Regions from separate parts of the Homo sapiens genome. Here regions 1 and 2 are each linked to region 3. The links are contacts of gene promoters, found by promoter capture Hi-C in blood cells and fetal thymus (Javierre and others, 2016). All regions are on one chromosome and are shown on one strand. The core of a region is centred on a gene start or on the middle of the fragment in contact, and the rest is flanking DNA. Distances in the headings are between cores, read along the strand shown.

Region 1 (4,304 bases), core at 733-3,232, 340 kb before region 3:
CCCTTCTAGTTGAAGCCCATCTGGGCAATGTGTGCACCTGGGCTTCTCCTCCACAGCCATCCAGGCTCCACTCTGGCACTCCACAGGTACTTCCTGGTTGGAGGGGCAGCCTTAGGCCTGGATGCCTGTGACCTGGGGCAACCGGTCACAAGAATGTGCCTTCTCCAGGTATGTGCATCTTCAGTAACCATGGTGCTCATCTTCCCTCAGGCCCCCAAACATTTTCTGAATGTTTTCAGATGAGGTAATGGTTAAGACACAGATTATTTCTGATGGCTCACTGCAGGGTGCAGCTTACCCTGATGGACCAAGATGGATTCTGTTCACACAGGCTCAGGAGGGGCCAGCTTACAGCAGAAACAATAGTAACTACAGACAATAAATCTTGCAACAAAAACTAAGAAAACTTCATAGAGATGGCCAATGTCTTGGCTGGGCATGGTGGCTCACGCCTATAATCCCAGCACTTTGGGAGGCCAAGGTGGGTGGATCACCTGAGGTTGGGAGTTTGAGACCAGCCTAACTAGCAGGAAGAAACCCCGTCTCTACTAAAAATACAAAATTCGCTGGGCGTGGTGGCACATGCCTGTAATCCCAGCTACTCGGGAGGCTGAGGCAGGAAAATCACTTGAACCCGGGAGGTGGAGGTTGCGGTGAGCCAAGATTGCGCCATTGCACGCCAGCTTTGGCGACGAGAGTGAAACTCTGTCTCAAAAAAAAAAAAAAAAAAGAAAAAGAAAAAGAAATGGCCGATGTCCCACATGATGGATGGGCCCCAGGACAACTGACTACCCAGGAAGAGTCAATTACTGGTGCTGGACTCAAGCTTTGGAGCCAGAAATTCCTGTGCTCAAATCTTGGCTCTCTCACTTCACTGCTAGATGATCTGGGAAGTTTCTAAACTTCCCTGGGTTTTTGTTTACTACTATAACTGTAAAGCAGGATTTTACAGTTACAGGGGAAGAAAGGAGGACTAAGGCAACCAAAGCAGTATATGTAAAGTACCTGGCTCAGTACAGCTCTGTCAACAGTACATTTTATTACCATCGCCAAGGGAGGGATTCAGCCAATGTCGTAAATACAGAGAAAAAAAGCCCATTGTGACTTGGATTTTAAGACTTGGCTGGGCGTGGTGGCTCACGCTTATAATCCCAGCACTTTGGGAGGCCAAGGTGGGAGGATCACTTGAGTTCAGGAGTTCAAAATCAGCCTGGGCAACATAGCAAGACCTAGTATTTATTAAAAATAAAAAATAAGCCAGGCGTGGTGGCGTGTACCTGTAGCCCCAGCTACTTGGGAGACTGAGGTAGGACGATCCCTTGAGTCCAGGAGATTGGGGCTGCAGTTTGCTGCGATCAAGCCACTGCGCTCCAGCATGGGTGACAGAATGAGACTTTGTCTCAAATAAATAAATAAATAAAAGACTCACATAGAAACTACATTTTCCAGGTAAATAATTTCTTTTTTTTTTCTTTTTTTTTTTTTGAGACAGAGTTTTGCTCTTGTCGCCCAGGCTGGAGTGCAATGGTACGATCTCAGCTCACTGCAACCTCTGCCTCCTGGGTTCAAGTGACTTTCCTGCCTCAGCCTCCTGAGCTAGCTGGGATTACAGGAGCCTGCCACCATGCCCAGCTAAGTTTTTTGTATTTTTAGTAGAGATGGGGTTTCACTATGTTGGCCAGGCTGGTCTTGAACTCCTGACCTCAGGTGGTCCACCCACTTTGGCCTCCCGAAGTGCTGGGGCGTGAGCCACCGCGTCGGCCCCAGGTAAATAATTTCTATGTTCTGTACTTTGAAAATCTGATTTAGTTTCTTCTTCCTTTTTTTAAGAGACGGGGTCTTGGCCGGGCGCAGTGGCTCAGGCCTGTAATCCCAGCACTTTGGGAGGCCGAGGCGGGTGGATCACGAGGTCAGGGGTTCGAGACCACCCTGACCAACATGATGAAACCCTATCTCTACTAAAAATACAAGAATTAGCTGGGCGGGGTGGCAGGCGCCTGTAATCCCAGCTACTCAGGAGGCTGAGGCAGGAGAATTGCTTGAACCCCGGAGGCGGAGGTTGCAGTGAGCTGAGATAGTGCCATTGCCCTCCAGCCTGGGCGACAGAGCGAGACTTCGTCTCAAAAAAAAAAAAACAACAACAACAACAAAAAAAAACAGGGTCTTGCTTTGTCACTTAGCTGGAGTGCAGTAGCGGGATTCTGGTTCACTGCAGTCTTGGTCTGAGCTCAAACAGAGCCTTCCTCCCAGCTTTCCAAGTAGCAAGGACCATAGATGAGTGACAGCACGCCCAGCTGATTTTTAAACTTTTTGTAAATACAGGGTCTTGCTACATTGCCCAGGCTGGTCTCAAACTCCTGGCCTCAGGTGATCCTCCTGCCTTGGCCTCCCAAAGTGCCAGGATAACAGTCATGAGCCACCATGCCCAACCCATGTTGATTTTATAATGTCTTTTTAGAAAATCTAATTTTCAGGCTGGGTGAGGTGGCTCACAGGTGTGGCAGTGCACAGCTGTAGTCCCAGATACACAAGAGGCTAGGGTGGAAGAATCACTTGAGTCCAGGAGTTAGAGGCTGCGGTGAGCTATGATCAAGCCACTGTACTCCAGCGTGGATGACACAGCAAGACTCTGTCTCAAAAAATAAATAAAATCAAAACGAATACAGAGGAGTTGTTTTATCATACGTACTGTTTATTAGGCCTCTCCGAGAGTCAGGCCCAGCCTGGCCCCCTGGTAGCTCACATACTGACCAAGCCCACAGGAGACAAATTGGTGCCTCTGGTCAACCCTTCCCCCTCCTCTCACTTCCTACCCCCACCTCTGCCACCTTGACCCTGAAGAACCCCACAGAGCATCTGTCATTTGTACTTATGGGCATCTTACGTAGGTCTAAACTCCCAGGATTACAAACCTCAGTGCTGCAGCAAGGAACAAGGCATGTGGATTGGTAGTCTATGACATCATTCAATCTCTTCAATTTATTTATTTATTTTTTTAATACATATTTTGTTATTATACTTTAAGTTCTAGGGTACATGTGCACAACGTGCAGGTTTGTTACATATGTATACATGTGCCGTGTTGGTGTGAATCTCTTCAATTTATGACACTTCAATCTCCTGCTCTTCTTTAATAAAAGAAGCTTTACAACAGGTACTAGCAGGACAATAAAGAACAGCCAGCCAAGTGTCACATACCTGGGATAGGGTGGCCAGGCCCTTGCACGGGGCCCGGCAGGGAGAGTAGCCCCTGACTGCTAGCACTACTGCTTCTGGAGGGTCTCCAGTGCTTCTCCACACTTGTGGGCCTTCCAGATTAGGGAAGACAATCACAGTTCTGGGGGTGAATTTTGCCATTTGGCTGCTGAACACATATGGCTGACCAGGGAGGGATGTAATGAGGAAATGAGGTTCTCAGACACCCCACCTGAGAGCTGCTGTTCTGGCCAATTCAGAAGCCTCCTGCTATAATGCCTCGCTGCTGGCGACAGAGTGGATACTGCAGTGTGAGGCAGAGAGGAGGTGGGTTTAGAGGAAAAAGGACTTTTATGACTGCTAGGAGTTTGGTGGTGATAAAACTAGGATAAGGAATTCCTGTTTCATGCCTCAAGAGGTGAGGAAAGAGGGAAAGACCTCTCTTCTTGAATCTGAAAAATAGTCTGTTTTTGTTTTTTTAGATGGGGACTCGCTTTGTTACCCAGTGGTATAATCTTGGCTCATTGCAACCTCCGCTTCCTGGGCTCAAGCTAACCTCCCACCTCAGCCTCCCAAGTAGCTGGGACCACAGGTGCACGCCACTGTGCCCAGCTAATTTTTTGTATTTTTGGTAGAGATGGGATTTCATCATGTTGCTCAGGCTGGTATTTAACTCCTGAGTTCAAGCGATCTGCCCACCTTGGCCTCCCAAAGTGCTGGATTAGAGGTGTGAGGCACTGAGCCCAACCCTGAATAACAGCACTCTTAAACTTAGGGCTCAGTAGTATCAGTGTGGGACTGCAAGGACATCTTGACTTAAACAGGCTCCTGAGGGCTAGCTGTACAGAGTCTTTGGGTAGCCATGAAAGACATGTCTACCTGAGTTTATCTAGCTCTCCTGCCAGGAAGTCAAGGGAGAGATTGGAGAAGCTGAAATCTGCTGGGCACAGTGGCTCCCACCTATAATTCCAGCACTTTGGGGGGCCAAAGTAGGATGATTGCCTGAGGTTAGGAGTTCGAAACCAGCTTGAACAACACAGCAAGATCCTGTCTCTACAAAAATGTTTTCTTTTTACTTTTCTTTTCTTTTTTTTTTGAGATGGAGTCTC
Region 2 (4,303 bases), core at 1,253-3,752, 310 kb before region 3:
CCAACTCCTGACCTCAGGCGATCCACCTGCCTCAGCCTCCCAGAGTGCTGGGATTACAGGCATGAGCCACCGCGCCTGGCTCTAATCCATATTTTCTAAGTGTTTATTCACATCACCATGAGAGAAAATTTTTTTTTGTCTTTGAAGACAAGGTACTTCAGTGAGCTCATTCCCAACCCAATGTCTAATTTATAAGGAGGTGTTAGAGTGTAGGGAATTCTTCCTGCTTTCATGTTTTTCTCAGTATCTCCTACCATTCTAACTTTCATGAACCCAAGCTTTTCAAGTGTCTTTCATTCTCACTTTTTAAAACACCTGCCATTTAAATTTTCAAGTAATAAGGACTTTTAGACTCCAAATTTCAGTTTGCTTTTAAGTTTGCTAATATAAATCTACTACTTTTGAATGCAAGAAAGATAATGTTCCATTACTATACTGTATATAAGTTCTCAAAAATAGCAAAATCTCCAATTCCATTCTTTCCTAGATGTACTCTAATTCCAATTGTGGATTTGTTCTAGAATTGGACCCCCTGTTATAGAGACCCCCATCTCTACAAAAAAAAAAAAAACTTGTTTTATTAGCTGTCTATGGTGGCATGCACCTGTGGTCCCAGCTACTCAGGAGGCTGAGGTGGGAGGATCACTTGAGCCCAGGAGTCAGAGGCTGCAGTGAGCTGTGATCACGCCACTGTACTCCAGGCTTGGTGACAGAGCAAGACCCTGTCTCAAAAATGAATAAACATTTAAAAATAAATATGCATGAGTGACTTTTCAGGCATCAGAAAGGCACTTTTCCTATTTCTAAGTTAGTGGTCTCTCTGATCCTGTGTTTTCTGAACACCGACCTCTGCATTTCAACTTCTAACATCAGATGACATTGCATCCCCATTCCATTTCTCCTCTTATGGGAAAACTAGAAAATCAGTTCAGTGAAAGTAGCTTCTATTAGCATTGCTGGTTTATCTGGTAGGGTTTCCTCATGGTTGGCCTGTCAAACACTGTTGATTACTTTATTACAGGCCAGATATGATAACTGCCCTCAGCTGCTCCAGAAAATGGCATAGAAGTTAAGTAATTATTTGTCAAAGGTTTCACTGTCATAGCAACCAGGACTTTTGAGAGTCCTCTGTAAGTCTACCTTTCTCTGAAAACAAGTGTTTTTCTGATTGGAGTTCAGAAAACTCACACAAATCCACAGGTCACACCACAGCCGTATTTAAGCAGTACCCTCTCCAAAAGCTCATTCAAAGTATTTGTGCCCACGTTCAAAACACCCTCCCACAGTCCATCCAGTTCCACAGGTGGCAACTGCTCCCTTCCATTTTACCTTGACTTGATTTTGGCCTACTTGTCTTACCTTCCTCTGGGTCAACGTGAAAGTAATGAAGGTTTCTGCACAGAACACAATGATTTTCATGAAGCCTTTCTGACAGAATTTGGTTAACAGTACTGATTTTCCCCAGAGGTTACATTTGCTTTTGATAATGCCCCATTATAACTCCTGAGGTATTTATACAAAATAACCCCACAGGTGCAAGAAAAGTTGGTAAAAAGCACAGTCACAATACCCATAGTTATGGTATGATGCTGAATTATGAAGCCAAGACAAAGTTTTCTTCTTCTTTTTTTGTTTTTTGAAACAGAGTTTAGCTCTTGTCCAGGCTGGAGTGCAATGGCGCGATCTCGACTCACTGCAAATTTTGCCTCCCAGGTTCAAGCGATTCTCCTGCCTCAGCCTCCCAAGTAGCTGGGATTACAGGCGTGCACCACCATGCCCCGATAATTTTGTATTTTTAGTAGAGACGGGGTTTCATTATGTTGGTGAGGCTGGTCTCAAACTCCTGACCTCAGGTGATCCACCCACCTTGGTCTCTCAAAGTGCTAGGATTACAGGCATGAGCTACTGCGCCCGGCCCAAAGCTTTCTTCTTTAAACTGATTTCACCTGTTAACATTATTATACTTCCAATGTATCTTCTTATAAGGGCAAGGGGAAAAACCTGCTGCAAAGTCAAATGTAAATAGAAAATTAGTTTTTATCAAGCTAGGGACAAACTGACTTTGATGATTAGAATCAGGGACCATCTTTTAAAAATCACATAGTTCTAATTTTTAAGTTTTGGGTCAGAGGAGGCTTTCTAAAAAATTGCTAGTTCTACTACCAATGTGTTCTAGTATTACTATAGAAATCAGATAGCAATTGCCCTAGCAAATAAAAATAATAATGAGGGCTGGGTGTGGTGGCTCACACCTGTTATCCCAGCACTTTGGGAGGCCAAGGCAGGCAGATCATCTGAGGTCAGGAGTTCAAGACCAGCCTGGCCAACATGGTGAAACCCCTTCTCTACTAAACATACAAAAATTAGCTGGGCGTGGTGGTACATGCCTGTAGTCCCAGCTACTCAGGAGGTTGAGGCCAGAGAATCGCTTGAACCTGGGAGGCGGAGATTGCAGTGAGCCGAGATCGCACCACTGCACTCCAGTCTGGGTGACAGAGTGAGACTCCGTCTCGATAGATAGATAGATAGATAGATAGAGAATTAGACCCAGACCAATGATTATTCCATGGCAAAGTGGGAAAACCAGGTGGTAAGAGATAACCTCTCACAACAGAATCTTTATCTGTGAAATAAGGATTCGACCAACAGAACCGTCTGTTGAAAATTTCCTCTCTTGGTCCAGGCAGGTTCTCTAAACTCCCAATCCCAAAGCAGTTAATTTTTTCACGTTTCCTGTAAAATGGATGGCCTTAAAACTCTTTTGTTCTCTAGTGTAGCTTTCCAGAAGGAAATAAGTTTCCTTATCAAGAATGAATCTAGCTTCCCCGACTCAAAAACAACCATCTTCTCTATATTGCTCCATATCACAATAAATTTAAGTGCCTTCCTTTTCTAAATTAAATGCTGTTCCCTTCAACTTAAGGGCCACACACTAAGGGCTATTCCTTTAGAGGCTTTTGGGCCCCACAGATCACAAAGGTGGTGCCCTGCCCTAGTTCTTTCTGGACATTTAAAAGGACATCCACTTTCTTGCCCTCAGGATAACATTATGGGAACAATGAACATAAATAAGACAGTTAAATAAGCTTCCCTGATGCCTATCCAATACAGCTTTCAACTCTTCTATCCTGCCTTGTTCTTTAGATCGTGCTGTAGTCTGGAGGGTAAACTCTTCACACAACCATTCCCAAGCCCTCATGTCCCTGTCCACTCTTCCTCCCTCACCTTTTAAGTGTGATAGGGCCTTGATGGGAAGACCTCACTTCACCTTTTGTCTCAAGTCCATCTGCTTCCTTCCAGAGCTACAAATACAAAGGTAGGCCAGGGCCATTGAGACGTGGCCATAGGGCACATGGGAGCTGGCAGAGCCACTCGCACCTTCTGGGGTGTCCCTTCTTCCACCTGTCAACTGAACACCCGTTTCTTAAAGATTTATCCCCAAAAGTCCCATCTCATTCTGAAAGGGGACGAACCAGCTACCCCACGAGCCCTTTGTCTGAGCTTCTACACCTCACACATCCTCATCCACAAAGCGTCCATCCTCACACAGTCAGGTGGTCCGCTCGGCACAGGGCGGGGGAGACTAGGTTTTTGCATCTGGTAAAAGGATGGGTTATGTCTCAGGTTCTTCCAGGATCCCAAATCCTATAATTCTACCACCAAGCCTGCGGGTCCTATTTCTGCGGTGGAAAGGGCGAATCCCAAGGCGACCCTCCACTCCACGCGCCTGCAGGCAGTTGGAACAAGCCCCCTCCAACCCCGGCTCTGCGGGTCCACGCCTCCAACCTCCGGCGCCGGGCCGCGGAGAAGGCCCTGTCGGCGCCCGCTCCCGGCCGCGCCATGCCCTCTTTCGCCCTCACCCGCCACCGGTGGCCGCCTCTCACCTGGCACGCTGGCATCGCCCACTCCGCGCTGCACTGGAAACCATGGGTCCGACGGGGTCTCGGGGGCCACCCATCCGCCTTAAGGAAGGCTGGCGGGGATGCGCGGGCCCGGGAGTCCAGGGCGCCGCCACCGGGAACGCGCCGCCTGGTTTCTAAGGAACTGGGGGCTCTGGAAAGGGAGGGGCGGGACGGCAGGAGGACTGCGCATGCTCCATAACGGGGATGGGCCTGCGCTGGGAGGGGCCGTAGCCGGGAGCTGCGCATGCTCGCTTTTTGGGGGCGGAGCTTAAGCAGCCTGGCTAGGAGGCTCAGGTTATTCATTTCCGGCGGCGGAGGCGGCAGTTTCCTAAGCTTGGCTTCTCTCCGGTCCGCTGACCGGCGTCAGGGACCAGGTTTTGGTAGCTGTGGGTAGCCTCAGT
Region 3 (4,488 bases), core at 526-3,025:
CATCCCGCCCTCAAGGAGCCGACAGGGCAGCCCAGAGCCTCCCACTGACAAGTGTGGTCACCCACTCAAGATACTGGGAAAGATCCCTGTTCTAGCATCACATTTTAATCAGATTTGTCAAAATCAGGTTGCTTGGGGCAAAGGCTCTTTCACCGAGGATGCTAGTCCTGGAAGACTTCTCCTTCGGCGAGCCGCCAGCTCAATCTTCTGAACCAGGCTCACATCCCAGGGATGGGTCACAAAACTGATGACGGTGCCTGGCACCTCGCTCCCCACACGGCCCACTCTCCCTGCTCTGTGGATGTAATCTTGCAGCGTTGGGGGGAAATCATAATTGACAACCAGCTCCACACCAGTGCTGTCCAGGCCCCGAGAGGCTATGTCTGTGCAGAGAAGTATGTCTCGGGAGCTCTTCTGGAAGGACTGGAAGATTCCTACCCTCATCAAGGCTGGCATTTGCCCCTGCAACCTTAGGTGTTGGATTTTGTGGTCATCCAGAATATATCCCAGCCAGTTCACAGTGCTGGAGCTATTACAGAACACCAGAACAGTTCCTGAGGGACCAGTCCTTTCTGCTCTGTCACGATGCTTGAGGATGTGCACCAGCTCGGCCACCTTATCTGCTCCCTTCAGTCTCAGAAATGTCTGTTTCACATGAGGCATGATACAGTGGAGCTTGGAGCTGGTGATGGTGGTGACAGCATCTGGGCTGGCGACTTTATTCAGCAACTGGCCTACACCTTCGGGAAATGTGGCTCCTACCAGCACTAACTGAGCTTTGGGATTGAAGGGGTCTTCCAAGTCAGCTGGGCCTTCTGCTATGTGGCTCTTCTCTAAGATGTAGTCCACCAGTTCCAGGAAGCTTTCATCCAGCAGTGTGTCTGCCTCATCCAACACCAAGAAGGAGAGTTGCTCCAGACTGATCAGTCGACTTTTCAGGGCCTTCCACAGAGCCCCTGGAGTGGCCACAAGCACATCTGCTGAAGGCTGTCTGGACAGCTGCAGCCTGATCCTACGCATGCCGTGGCCTCCCTCCAGGTCCCGCACCAGCAGGCCCAAGGAGCGGCCCAAGGGTTGGGCCACAGCCCGCACCTGTTGGGCCAATTCTCGGGAAGGAACAAGGACCAGGCCTCGGGGCGCGGGGATAGGAAGGGAGTCCAGGCTTGGCTGGCCCAAGAGCCGTTGAAGCAGCGGCAGGAGGTAGCTGAGAGTCTTGCCACTGCCGGTTTCTGCGGCGCAAACGACATGGCGGCCGCGAAGTAGTGAGGGGATGGTGCTAGACTGCACGGTTGTGGGCTGAACGACTTCAGGCGCAGCCTCCTGTAGTGCGTGCAGCACACGGGGCTCCAGGCCCAGGTCAGCAAAGCTGCCCTTAGACGAGAGCTTTCGCACCGCTGGCGCCTCCTGTTGCGCGCGCTCGATGGAGAAGTGGTCCCGACGCGCGCGTCGACTCTTCCAGCCTTGAGAGGCTAGCGGCGCGCGCTCCCAACGGCCCAGTGTGAGGCGCGCCGGCTGGTTCAACTCCGGCCGCCGCGCCGAAACCAGCAGCGGTCCGGGTCGAACCAGCACCGGCCTCGGGAGGTTCCGCCGCCTGCTCTGCCGCTGTTCCAACTGCCGCTGTAGAGCCACTGGGATGCGCACCACCGGCAGGGGTTCGTCGGGACTGCGGACCGTGAGGCCCCGTCGCGGCGCCAGGAGCAACCGAGTCACGAGGGAAAAGAGCCGCACCGGCCGCGTTAGAGCCATGTTTCCCTTAGTGCGGGAGAAGCGCACATCAGTGACGTCACGGACGCGCCGCGACCTCGCGTACGGTGGCTGGCGAGGCTCAGTACGGTGTGTGGAGCTGGAGCACCGTGAGGAAGAAGCGAGGTTCTTTTTAAGAGTTCAGCTGCGAGGTCTGTAGCTCCGAATAGGGGATGGCGACATCCAGACCCGGCCAGCCTTGGGGAAGGGCGCGTCGTGGAGGCAGGACTGGAGGCTGGCGATACGAGGCGGCAGTGGGGCCTTGACCCAATGGACCATGAGGGCGGAGGGCTTCTGGCGATTGGTTACCTGGTTCCTGGGATTCTCTTTAGTTGTTCCTCATTGCCCTGAGATAGCTTGTCCCGTGCTGGTATCCGAGGTTGCAGCTGTTTTCCCAGATGTGTTCCCTGCGCAGGGTCTGGTAATCCGTGTTTATTGAGAGTTTGAATGAATGATCAGGCCTAGGGGCCGAGACAGGGGTCTGAAGTCATAGATCTGGGCTCAACCCCTCACCCTCTCTGTCTGTGAGCCCAGAGTGCAAGCTGATGGCTTTCAGCTTCTTCTCTCTCTCAAGTGGGAGATAAGGTCTTCAGGTTTTATTTCAAGTTGGGTCATCTTTTCTTCACAGTTATTTTCCTTCCTTTTAAGCCAAGGTTCACTCTCTACTCCCTCGTCACGCGTCCCAACTTCTCATCCAGAACCCACCCCTCTTGCAGCCCGCTCAGCTCCACTGGCTTCCCCGTCAGAAACCTGAATTACCTAAAATAGTAGTAAGAAGGGTGCTGCGACCCTACAAAGTGATCAAGTACGTGGCTTATCATGTAGCCCTGGTCAGGCAGAATATTTTACCTGAATTCAGATATTCGGGTTGTAAAAACAAGAACTATACGAGTCACTTTTTTTTTTTTTTTTTCTGAGACACAGTCTCGTTCTGTCACCCAGGCTGGAGTGCAGTGGCGCAATCTCGGCTCACTGCAACCTCCACCTCCTGGGTTCAGGTGATTCTCCTGCCTCTGCCTCCCAAGTAGCTGAGACTACAGCCGTACACCACCCACGCCCGGCTAATTTTTTCTGTTTTTAGTAGAGACAGGGTTTCACTATGTAGGCCTGGCTGGTCTCGAACTCCTGGCCTCAAGCGATCTTCCCACCTCGGCCTCCCAAAGTGATGGGATTATAAGCGTGAGCCACCATGCCCAACAGATACTTCTTGAACAGATCTGGAAAATGGGTGTCAGATCTTTTCTGTAATTTGCAGTGCCTGGGGTGGGAGATAAGGTAAATATTTATGGATTAACTCTCTGGGAGGTTCGTAACATCTGGAGAAAACGTTTTAGTTTCATCAAATACCAATGAAAAGATAAAAACTTTGCTTTTTTTGGAATAGTATGAGGAAAAACTTTCACAATTTTAAGTACACTCTACCCTTGTGCTACACAATTAGACTTTCTGGAGAGTTACCAGATAAATCAGAGGAAGAGAGGCTTTTTTTCTCCACAAGAAAATATCTGGAAGTAGGAAGAGAAAGTTTTGAGTAGTGATGGGTGAATGAACAGTCATTGGATAGGGTAGTGGTTCTAAAACAAGGGTGATTTTGCCCTTTCCCTCCCACCATATTTGACAATGGCTGGATACTTTTTTTTTTTTTTTTTTTATAGACAGTCTCACTGTGTTGCCCAGGCTGGAGTACAGTGGTGCGATGTCAGCTCACTGCAGTCTCTGCCTTCTGGGTTCAAGGGATTCTCCTGCATCAGCCATCTGAGTAGCTGGGATTAGAGGTGTGCGCTACCACTCCCAGCTAATTTTTGTATTTTTAATAGAGACAGGGTTTCACTACGTTGGGCAGGCTGGTCTCAAACTCCTGACCTCATGATTTGCCCACCTTGGTCTCCCAAAGTGCTGAGATTACAGGTGTGAGCCGCTGTGCCCGGCCCAATTCTATGCTACTTTTATGATTCTTTCCAAACTCAGGGCTTCTCCTTATCCAAATAGTTCCTTGGGGCCAGGCTCATGCCTGTAATCCCAGCTACTCGGGAGGCTGAGGCAGGATAATCGTTTGAACCCGGGAGGCGGAGGTTGTTGCAGTGAGCCGAGATCGCACCATTGCACTCCAGCCTGGGCGACAGGGCGAGACTCTGTCTCAAAAAAAAAAAAAAAAGGTCCCTTGGATGTTTGTCCCAACAGGTTTCATCCATTTCCATGTGCCACTGTTTTTCAGATATCAAACAAAGAATTACTCTGTACAAAGCCAGAACACATATATCAAAGTAATCCTGAAGTATCAGAACAAAATAATAGGTATGTATATGCATTTGGGTTTTTGGGTTTTGTTCAAATATCCAGGGTAGGGTAGCTGGTTAATATATAGTTGTTTTCTCATTATGCTTGAGTCCTTACAATATGATTACCTCAAAATTTCACAGGAGTTAGAGCTTGCCTAAGCCTGTCTGTGTCCGTGGCCACTAATTTCTTCTTGTCACATCACTAGACACTGCCTACCTTTTTTCCCCCTCACTCACAGAGGACATTGATTAACTTCTAAATGTTTTCTGAGATATTTTTATAAGTAGTGCTTTAGAAATAGGAAAGGTATCCTTATTGTGAAAAAAAATCTAAGCTCCTGAGATCAGGAGCTTGGTGTGTTCCTTGGATCTCAGTTAATAATGGTATATTCATTCATTCATTCAATCATTCATTCAACAAATACTTCCTGAGCACCACGCATGTGCCAGGCATTGGTAGTGAGGA

What was found. Contacts are between HindIII fragments. The CHiCAGO score rates a contact against its expected background, and 5 or more counts as called.
Region 1: a contact is called between a fragment that was not itself captured here and the fragment with the promoter of DDX28 in region 3, in 2 of 17 cell types (naive B cells and erythroblasts). The highest score is 6.2, in naive B cells.
Region 2: a contact is called between a fragment that was not itself captured here and the fragment with the promoter of DDX28 in region 3, in 3 of 17 cell types (fetal thymus, naive CD4 T cells and non-activated CD4 T cells). The highest score is 6.2, in fetal thymus.

What each region holds. Positions count from the first base shown.
Region 1 is chr16:67,677,765-67,682,068 of GRCh38, forward strand. The region is part of intron 2 of GFOD2 (Gfo/Idh/MocA-like oxidoreductase domain containing 2); the gene reads right to left. Among named protein-coding and RNA genes, the nearest start is that of C16orf86, 13 kb to the left of the region's middle. RefSeq lists enhancers at 1-258, 259-1,214. The HindIII fragment of the contact is 2,317 bases long and covers 825-3,141 here.
Region 2 is chr16:67,715,279-67,719,581 of GRCh38, forward strand. It overlaps GFOD2 (Gfo/Idh/MocA-like oxidoreductase domain containing 2), which reads right to left and starts at 4,038. Exons shown (of 3, transcript NM_030819.4): 1 at 3,885-4,038. RefSeq lists an enhancer at 3,356-3,435 and silencers at 3,796-3,845, 3,906-3,955. The HindIII fragment of the contact is 1,164 bases long and covers 1,921-3,084 here.
Region 3 is chr16:68,021,457-68,025,944 of GRCh38, forward strand. DDX28 (DEAD-box helicase 28) reads right to left here and starts at 1,776. Exons shown (of 1, transcript NM_018380.4): 1 at 1-1,776. The coding sequence starts at 1,746. The coding sequence ends at 124. DUS2 (dihydrouridine synthase 2) reads left to right here and starts at 1,828. Exons shown (of 17, transcript NM_017803.5): 1 at 1,828-1,895; 2 at 3,959-4,038. RefSeq lists enhancers at 477-1,227, 1,228-1,978, 1,689-1,928. The HindIII fragment of the contact is 5,621 bases long and covers 861-4,488 here.